2 separate regions of the Homo sapiens genome follow, and region 2 is linked to region 1. The links are contacts of gene promoters, found by promoter capture Hi-C in blood cells and fetal thymus (Javierre and others, 2016). All regions are on one chromosome and are shown on one strand. Each heading gives the region's core, a stretch centred on a gene start or on the middle of the fragment in contact. The rest is flanking DNA. Distances are from core to core; before and after follow the strand shown.

What was found. The method cuts DNA at HindIII sites, captures the fragments that hold promoters and counts their contacts. A CHiCAGO score of 5 or more calls a contact.
Region 2: a fragment that was not itself captured here is called in contact with the fragment with the promoter of LAMA2 in region 1 in 4 of 17 cell types (non-activated CD4 T cells, naive CD4 T cells, total CD4 T cells and 1 more); the score reaches 5.7 in non-activated CD4 T cells.

What each region holds. Positions count from the first base shown.
Region 1 is chr6:128,880,645-128,884,753 of GRCh38, reverse strand. It overlaps LAMA2 (laminin subunit alpha 2), which reads right to left and starts at 1,616. Exons shown (of 65, transcript NM_000426.4): 1 at 1,397-1,616. The coding sequence starts at 1,508. The HindIII fragment of the contact is 2,757 bases long and covers 360-3,116 here.
Region 2 is chr6:127,608,619-127,612,383 of GRCh38, reverse strand. All of the region lies in intron 1 of LOC105377996 (a long non-coding RNA gene), which reads right to left. Among named protein-coding and RNA genes, the nearest start is that of C6orf58, 33 kb to the right of the region's middle. The HindIII fragment of the contact is 2,491 bases long and covers 272-2,762 here.

The DNA of each region.
Region 1 (4,109 bases), core at 367-2,866:
AAAGTAGAATTTTTAAAAATAAGTGGCCAGAGATACTCTTAAAATCACTCTCGTAAATTATATTAATTAAGTCATATTGGCCCCATTTTACCTCTCAGAGAAGCAAAAGCAAAAATAGAAGGAAAAAAGTTATATAGTGAATGCAAGGTCATTTTTATTCCAAGAATTTTAATCAGGGAGTTATTATTATAGAAAGAGCTTGGGATATCTCTTTACTCCTTAAAAAATAGTACTGCTAAAAATGCTAGATTATAAGAACAAATATCAGAACTATTGACTTGGCTAGAAGTTAACTGGAAGAAGGATAAGTATACTTCAAAACTTAAGCAGATTCAGCCTCATTAAAACTTTTAAAAGCTTCTAACCTACAGATTTTGTACTCTTAGGTTAAACATTTTCATATTTAAAACCGAATAATAAATATTTCTTTTTTTTTTACTTTGATACAGGTTTTCCAACTTAAAGAATTGTTTGCTGAAATAATGTGTTACAAAGTATGTCTTACAATGCTGCACATGTGCTTCCTGTAAAATTCATGATAATAAAATAACTCTTCAAAGACTCCCCAAAGTTTCAGAAATGAGAGCTATATATACATAAACACTAAGAGGCTCTGAGGAGAATAAGTTATTTAAGTTACATTAAATACAGCCATCTTCCAAAGTCCTCCAAAGTGTATATCTAGTCACTGTGGCCTTAAAGTACACATGACATAGAAGTCTCCTCTGTATTTAAGCAAAAGGAGAAATTTCACGATTTCACTACAATAAAATAGGATATGAAGATAAGATGTGGGTTTGAAAAAGGTGAGGCTGGAGGCGCCATTGCCATGAAAGAAAAAAAACCACATAACTTCTTTAGAAATCCTGTTTTAAAAGTTGAAAACAAAGTTCTGTAAAACTTTATATATATATATATGTGTGTGTGTGTGTGTGTGTGTGTGTGTGTGTGTATATATATATATATAATTTTTTTTTGATGCATCAGCTACCCTCCATAAAGTCCCAGGATGAACCACACAGCTTGGGAAGCCTTTCTCTGCAGGATGGGCTCTGATTTGAAGAAATTCTTTTTTTTCCAATTGGAAAAAGTTTTCCTCTTGGAAAGATTTCAGAAATCAATTTACGGGATGTATCGTGATAGCAAGACCTCTTCGAAACTAAAGAACAATGAAAAGCACTCCCCGTTCCTTTTGCAGGACTTAGGTAATTCCCCCTACACTACGCTCTCATGGCATTGAACTTGAACTTGCTTCAAGTTCCTCTTGCCCCAGAGCGCACTCTCTGAAGGCGAAGCAAGACGGCAGTCCACAGACAGCAACTCTCGGAAGAGTGGAAGAAGTGAGGAATCTCGGTCCCGGCAAAGGATGCAACCCAAGCCCATGCCTCGACTGTACCTCTTTGCTGATGTGCCTGTGACTGCCGCTGCTGCTGCGGCCGCTGCGCCTGTACGCCCCCGAGGCCTCCGGAGAGCAGCAGAAGGAGGAGGACCCCGGCGGCTCCCGGCATCGTAGTGGCCGCGACCGGATCCACTTCTCGGGAGCCAGAGGAGTCGCTGCCGCCCTGTCCCCTGGCCTTGGCTTGTGAGCTGAGCGAGCAGCAGCTGCTGGGGAAGAGGAGGAGACAGCCCCCTCTGGCTTTGGCCGGGCCGCCGCCTGAGGGTGGGGGAGAAAGAGGACACTCCTCCACTCTCGCCTTCCATGGGCACGCGGCCCCAGGACGGCCCTCTATTAAAGGATCCTCCTTTCCTAGAGCGCTCCTTCCCTCTGAGACCGGATCATTCCTAGCTTGACCTGGTATCTGAACTTCTTTTAAATTAAAGAAAGTAATTGACATGAAAGCACTTTGAAATCTGTAAAATCCCTACACATGGAAAACATTATTTCTGGGAAATGCAAACAGCTAGGAACTTTTACCTCTTGAGAAAGGCCTGGCAAAACTGTGTGCAGCCACTGTGTACCTAGAAGATCCAAGACATCCCCAAGGCCAGAGTGTCTGAGAAGTTACTAGCCGAGGGAAGGTGCCCTCTGGGGACACTGCAGGCTGGGGAACTTACTGCTAGGTAGGCTGCTGGGAGGGCAGTAAAGGAAGTGCAAAATAAAACAGCCACCCTGGCGTCCCTGAAATGTTCCTGACCAAACTAATGGTTAGAATGAAGGCTTTCAGTTCAGTTAGGAGACATTTACTTAAAGGTAATAAAGGCCTTTGCAATAGTTTCCTTCCAGACTCACAATTTCATCTCTTCCAGTCCTGGTTTCTCCTCTTTCTCCTCTTTAACTCAACAGAACTACTGCCATTCCTAGTTTTTGTTGTTTTTTCATTTGTTTTTTATGGCCTAGGTCAGTGGTTCTCATAAGGTTTAAAACAACTCCATAATGGATTTTGTGAGTCGCAGGATGTCTTTTGGTTTACTCCGGGAACGGTGGGTACTGCAGGCATTAGTGTACTGTTGGGTCAGGGTGTGAGCTGTCCCTCAGTGGTCAGGACAGTCCTACAACATATTTTGTCCTTAGACTTCTGAATGGGCCACTGGTCATTTATGTAGTGAGTAAACAAACAAACAAAACAACAAAACCTTGCCTTATATTTGAAACCTAATTTAAGTTTGTTTCCACATCAAATTTTTGTGTGTGTTTTTTGTTTGTTTGTTTGTTTTTTTCTAGGATGCATCTACTATATACATTGAGAAGATAATTTACTTTGTGTTTTTGGATTTTACACCCATTTGTCAATGGGTGTAAAGATGTACTTTCAGAGAAGCACATCACTGATAACAACCTTGCCCATGGTACTTGAGTCACCAGCACAATATCAACATCCCATCGATTACACTGGGGTCATCTAAGAATAGGTGCAAACTTTTATTTTATTTTGCCTCCTAAGGAAGTTTTACCCAAGCATTTATATGTTGAAATACATATTGTCTTATATAGATAGTTTTCTTTTTTATAGTTAAGATGTATTGATTTATCTAAATATTATATTAAAGTTGAATTTTCTTTCAGTAAAATTAAGAGAGTATTGCTTTGAAGAGAATTGATTGAAAATCACTAGCCAAAGCCCATTCTTTAATATTATTCATGTCTTTTAGTTCTGTTAATATTATACCAGAAAGCTTTGTAATCCTTTTACCTTACTGTGGAAATTTGCAAAATGTAGTCTGCCCATGTCTGCACACTTATACATTATTTATTATTATAATAAACAATAATAAAACTTATATTTGAGAGTTTATTATAATTGAAGCCCCAGTGTTTTTAATTTGGTCTAATTTTGCCTAGAAGTGTTTTTCAGGTACATCTAATAGCAGAGAGGCACCCTAAATTAACCTTCTAAACCTATTGCTATTCTCAGAATGATTATTTTTACTCAACCACGTTGTGGCCTCAACTCAAATTAGTTAATCTAATAAATAATAAAAAATATTTATAAAAAGGAAAAGTTTTATTGAATATTTATAAAAAGGAAAATGATTATTTTTACTCAACCATGTTGTGGCCTCAACTCAAATTAGTTAATCTAATAAATAATAAAAAATATTTATAAAAAGGAAAATCAGAATGATGCAGCTGCTAACTCTAATTGTGGAATGAAAATATACCATGTTCCCTCTATCCCCTTCCTCTTTACATTTTCCCAGGATTTTATAATCAATATTTGTACCTGCTTTTCTGCAGTTACTGCAGTTACCTGAGTTCCTATTTTACATGAAAATGCCTTGAGAATAAGACTATGATCTCCACTGTCAACTCTACTTGTTTGATTCAGCACATGGAAAAAATTCTTAAATATTTAACCCAAATTAAAATGAACCAGTATATTTAGAGCTATATTTTTTCCAAATAAACCTAAATAAGGTACAATTTACACACAATAAATATGCTCATTTGAAACATTTTTTAGATGTAAATACTCATCTGACAAAGTACCCAATACATAGTCTATTTCTATAATCTCAAAAAGTTTTCTTTCTGACCTTTTGCAATAAATCCCCCAACCTCCATTCCCAGAAAAAGGCAACTGCTGATCTAATTTTGTCACTATAGATTATAACTATTCTCATATTTCATGTAAATACAATAATAAAATAGTAATCTTTTGTGTCTGGCT
Region 2 (3,765 bases), core at 268-2,767, 1.3 Mb after region 1:
TATATATTATATAGCATAAATATGTATTGTAGATGTATATGTGGAAGATACTTTGAATCTATCCTGTTTCTCATCAAAATTTAAAACATTCATTTATTTATTTATATCTCTCTATTCATGTTTTTCATTTTATTCAGTGGATTTCCATGCTTTATTATTTATTTTGATACTCCATTGTTTCAGTCTTGGCCAGTGGAAGCTCCCTTTGACAATATATCCATCTATTTTTGAACACTTCATTGCTTTCAGGCACAAGAATGTATCTTAAGCTTATTTTATCCTTTACCTCTCTTATCCCTAGAATTATCCATTTCTCTAAGGCACTTTTGTTTCATTTATTGAAAAATAATATTTTGAAGAAGTCAAGGCCTGAGTGGTAGATTTGTTTATGACTTTTGGGATATTCCTGCTCATATTCATGCATCCCTCTCAGTAGATGCATCTACTCACCTCTATATCCATCTATCTATGTGTCTACCATTATCTATTTAGAACACATCATCTATCTAATTTATGTATATTGCAAATTATGAGTTCACACCAATATTGCTAATTCCAATCCAATAGCACAGCAATTACTTTAGTTATCACACTTTTCAATGTTTGAATCTTCCTTCTCTAACAGTGAAAGAATGTGGCTTCCATTTGCTTTGAATATGTACTTGTTTAATTTTTCTGTATATAATTCCATCCATCATCTGTGCCATAACCTCCTCATCTGTATGGATGCCTTCTCACCCATCTTTTTGGGCTCCAATATCTTGTAGTACATGGCCTCTATCGCTGAATTTCCTCTTCACTCTGCTTGCCCTCTGACTCCCCATGCTGGGCCTCCCCTCTCTGGCAATGCCTTCCGGTCCAGGTTTATACTCTGTTTTCCTACATGGCCTCCCCTTTTGTGAGCACAACTTCTTCACCCTGCTTAGGCTCTGGATCTCCATGTTTTGTCACCATGACTCCCTTCCCACAATTTTTTACTTTTGTCTACCAAATAAATTTTTCACTGAATTGTTCAGAAAAAGTAGTGAAGAAGTGGGAAGTGGGAAGTGAAGAAAAAGAATTATCATGGAATCACTTATAACATCCTTCTTCCTGTTATACCCTATACCTGATCCATAAAGAAACTATGTTGGTACTACATTCAAATATCCAGAATACAACCACTCATCACCATTTCTTCTATGGTCAAAGGTAACACTATGTTTGTCCTGGATTCCATAGATATTCCTTTAGAAAACTTGGAAATGCTGGACCACTCTCAGAAAGGGAGAAGTTGACAGGTTAAAGCTCATTTAGGAGAGATAACATTGTTGTGTATGAGGATTTAAGTGTGCACCTGTGATTTATTGATAGGTTTTTATTTGTGCTTTTTAATTATTTTGGAACCACAATACTCTATTACAATGATTTAGAGAAGGGTGAATGAACTCAAACTTTGTACTTTCATAAAAGATTTATAACCTCCTGGCAGCTGTGATTGTATCCCTTGAAACACTGAAAAGGAAACAAAGTCCCATATATTGCCCAATTGACCATACAGTTTGGACAATCTGTCTGCTATCTATTCCCATCAGCCCTCTGTCCTCTTACAGAATTTCTTCATAATGTACAAAAATTATTTCATACTTATGTATGTATATATATATGTAATTTCAAGTATCATTATTTCATATATATGTAATTTCTAGCAGGAAAGAAGATGCCTCTGGATCAGAGAACAGACCATTTATTACTGACAGATTGCCTTAGCATCCGTTTCCCATGCTTCAGTTTTCATGGGTTAATGCAATAAATGATGTTCACTCTCGCATGCAGTAGCATTGCCTCACAGCAGATGAACCCTAAAGTAAGACTTGGAACATATATGGAGCAGCTGGTGTATCATTCTATTCTGCATGGGTGCATGCGAGAGACAAAGGTGGGAGAGAGAGAGAAACAAAATGAGAGACATCTCATCCTTCTTACCTTTACTCTAGAGGGTGGGGTGAGTGATCGCTACTCTGTACTGTAAACAAGTGATTCCAGTAGGGATAAGAGTTGAACTACTCTCTGGAGCAGTGTGCTACCTAACATCCAAGTCATGTTTGTCTTTAAGTCATCCTTTAATAGATACACCAACTGCCTCTGGACTGTGAAGAAACAAAAATATTCATGGAGAATTATTTTCTAAGCACTTCTTCACTCAATAAAAATACCACACAAATTAACTTTTATTTTAGGTATGTAAAACTCAGAAATGTGAAACTTAAATAGGAAAAATAAAATTAATGAGCTCAAAGGACAATAAGAAGAGCTGGAAGTAGTTGTTTTCTGTGGAACAATTACTTTAGAGCCTCTAACTGTGTCTATTGCTTCAGTTGTCTTCCTTCAATACATTTCCAAGTGCCTCTTGCATACCAGTATTTGGGATAGAACAAGTTATATGGAAGGACCAGCTGTATGTATAAATAAAAAATGTGCTCCAACCTTTATGCCACATCCTTCATAAAATCTTCCCTTAATTCTGCTGCTATGCCAAACCTAGAGATATCACTGTCTTATCCAAACTTTGATAATTTGTAACCTATACTTTTCTTAAGGAAATATCCCTAAGAATATTAAGATATTTTCTAAAAATATCTGCCTAAAAATGAAAATTTTTATTTATTCATGATAATTACATAAGTTTTATGCTTAACAGATATTCAGTAAACAGTTTTTTTAAAAAATGAAAAGTTATACAATGTATCATTTCCAAGAGCAGTGAACAATAAAATGAAGCTTTCTGTTGAATTCAGAATGATAGGATAACGTGTTCTTAGATAGGCCAAGCTGAGTTCTAAATATCAGTGTTGTCACTATTGTCTAAAAGACTTCAAAGGCACAGGTCAGCAAGCTATGGGCCTAATCTTGTCCACTTGTAAATAAAGTTTTATTGGAACTTGGCCACATCCATAAGTTTACATCTTGTCTATTTCTGGTTTTGGGATACAATAATAGAGTTGCCCACCAAAAAGCAGAATATTTACTATCTGGCCCTTTACAAAAAAGGTTTGCCACTTCTGCTGTAAGTCAGTGTTAGTAAAAACGTGATAATTGATGATAAAAACAACAAATTTTTCACTGCCCTGCTAATATAACATAACCCTTCTTATGCCAATGACGGGGTTTACTGACATTAAAATAGTGTATTCTTCTTTAGTGGTTTCTAGCATTGCTTATGTGTTTGGTTCTTCTCTATGTAATTATTTTTAAAATTACAATAAGAAGTCAACTTGAGGACAAAATTCTTCTATTACATATTCAAATTACTTGCTTTCATTAGAGATTAAATTTTTATAGTCATCCTTTGTTAAACATCTCAAAGACAGAGCTCTTTTCCACCTTGTTCATTATCGTAGGACAGTACTGATACAGCACCAGGAATGAGGTCACTGCTCAAAAAATATCTGTTGAATTAGGTGTGAGGCTTGGACAGAGTTTTCTGAAAACTCATTGTGACTAGAACAAAAACAAAGCACAGGCATCCAGGGAAGGGCTGGGCCCACAAATCAGGTTGTAGTGCAGAGGTTCTGAATTAACCATCTCCTCTGCATCAAGCCTAAATCCTCTGGGCCTCACTGTGCTATGACTAATTTAAACAGGCTTTTGGCCTGCTTCCTGCAGGTGCAACTTGACAGTTTAATTTCAGTCACTCGTTATACCTCTTACCTACTTCCCTGGGTATGTATGCCTCTGTTGCTCTGTCAGGCATCTGCTAGAATCTGTTTGGTATTCAGGCTTGTC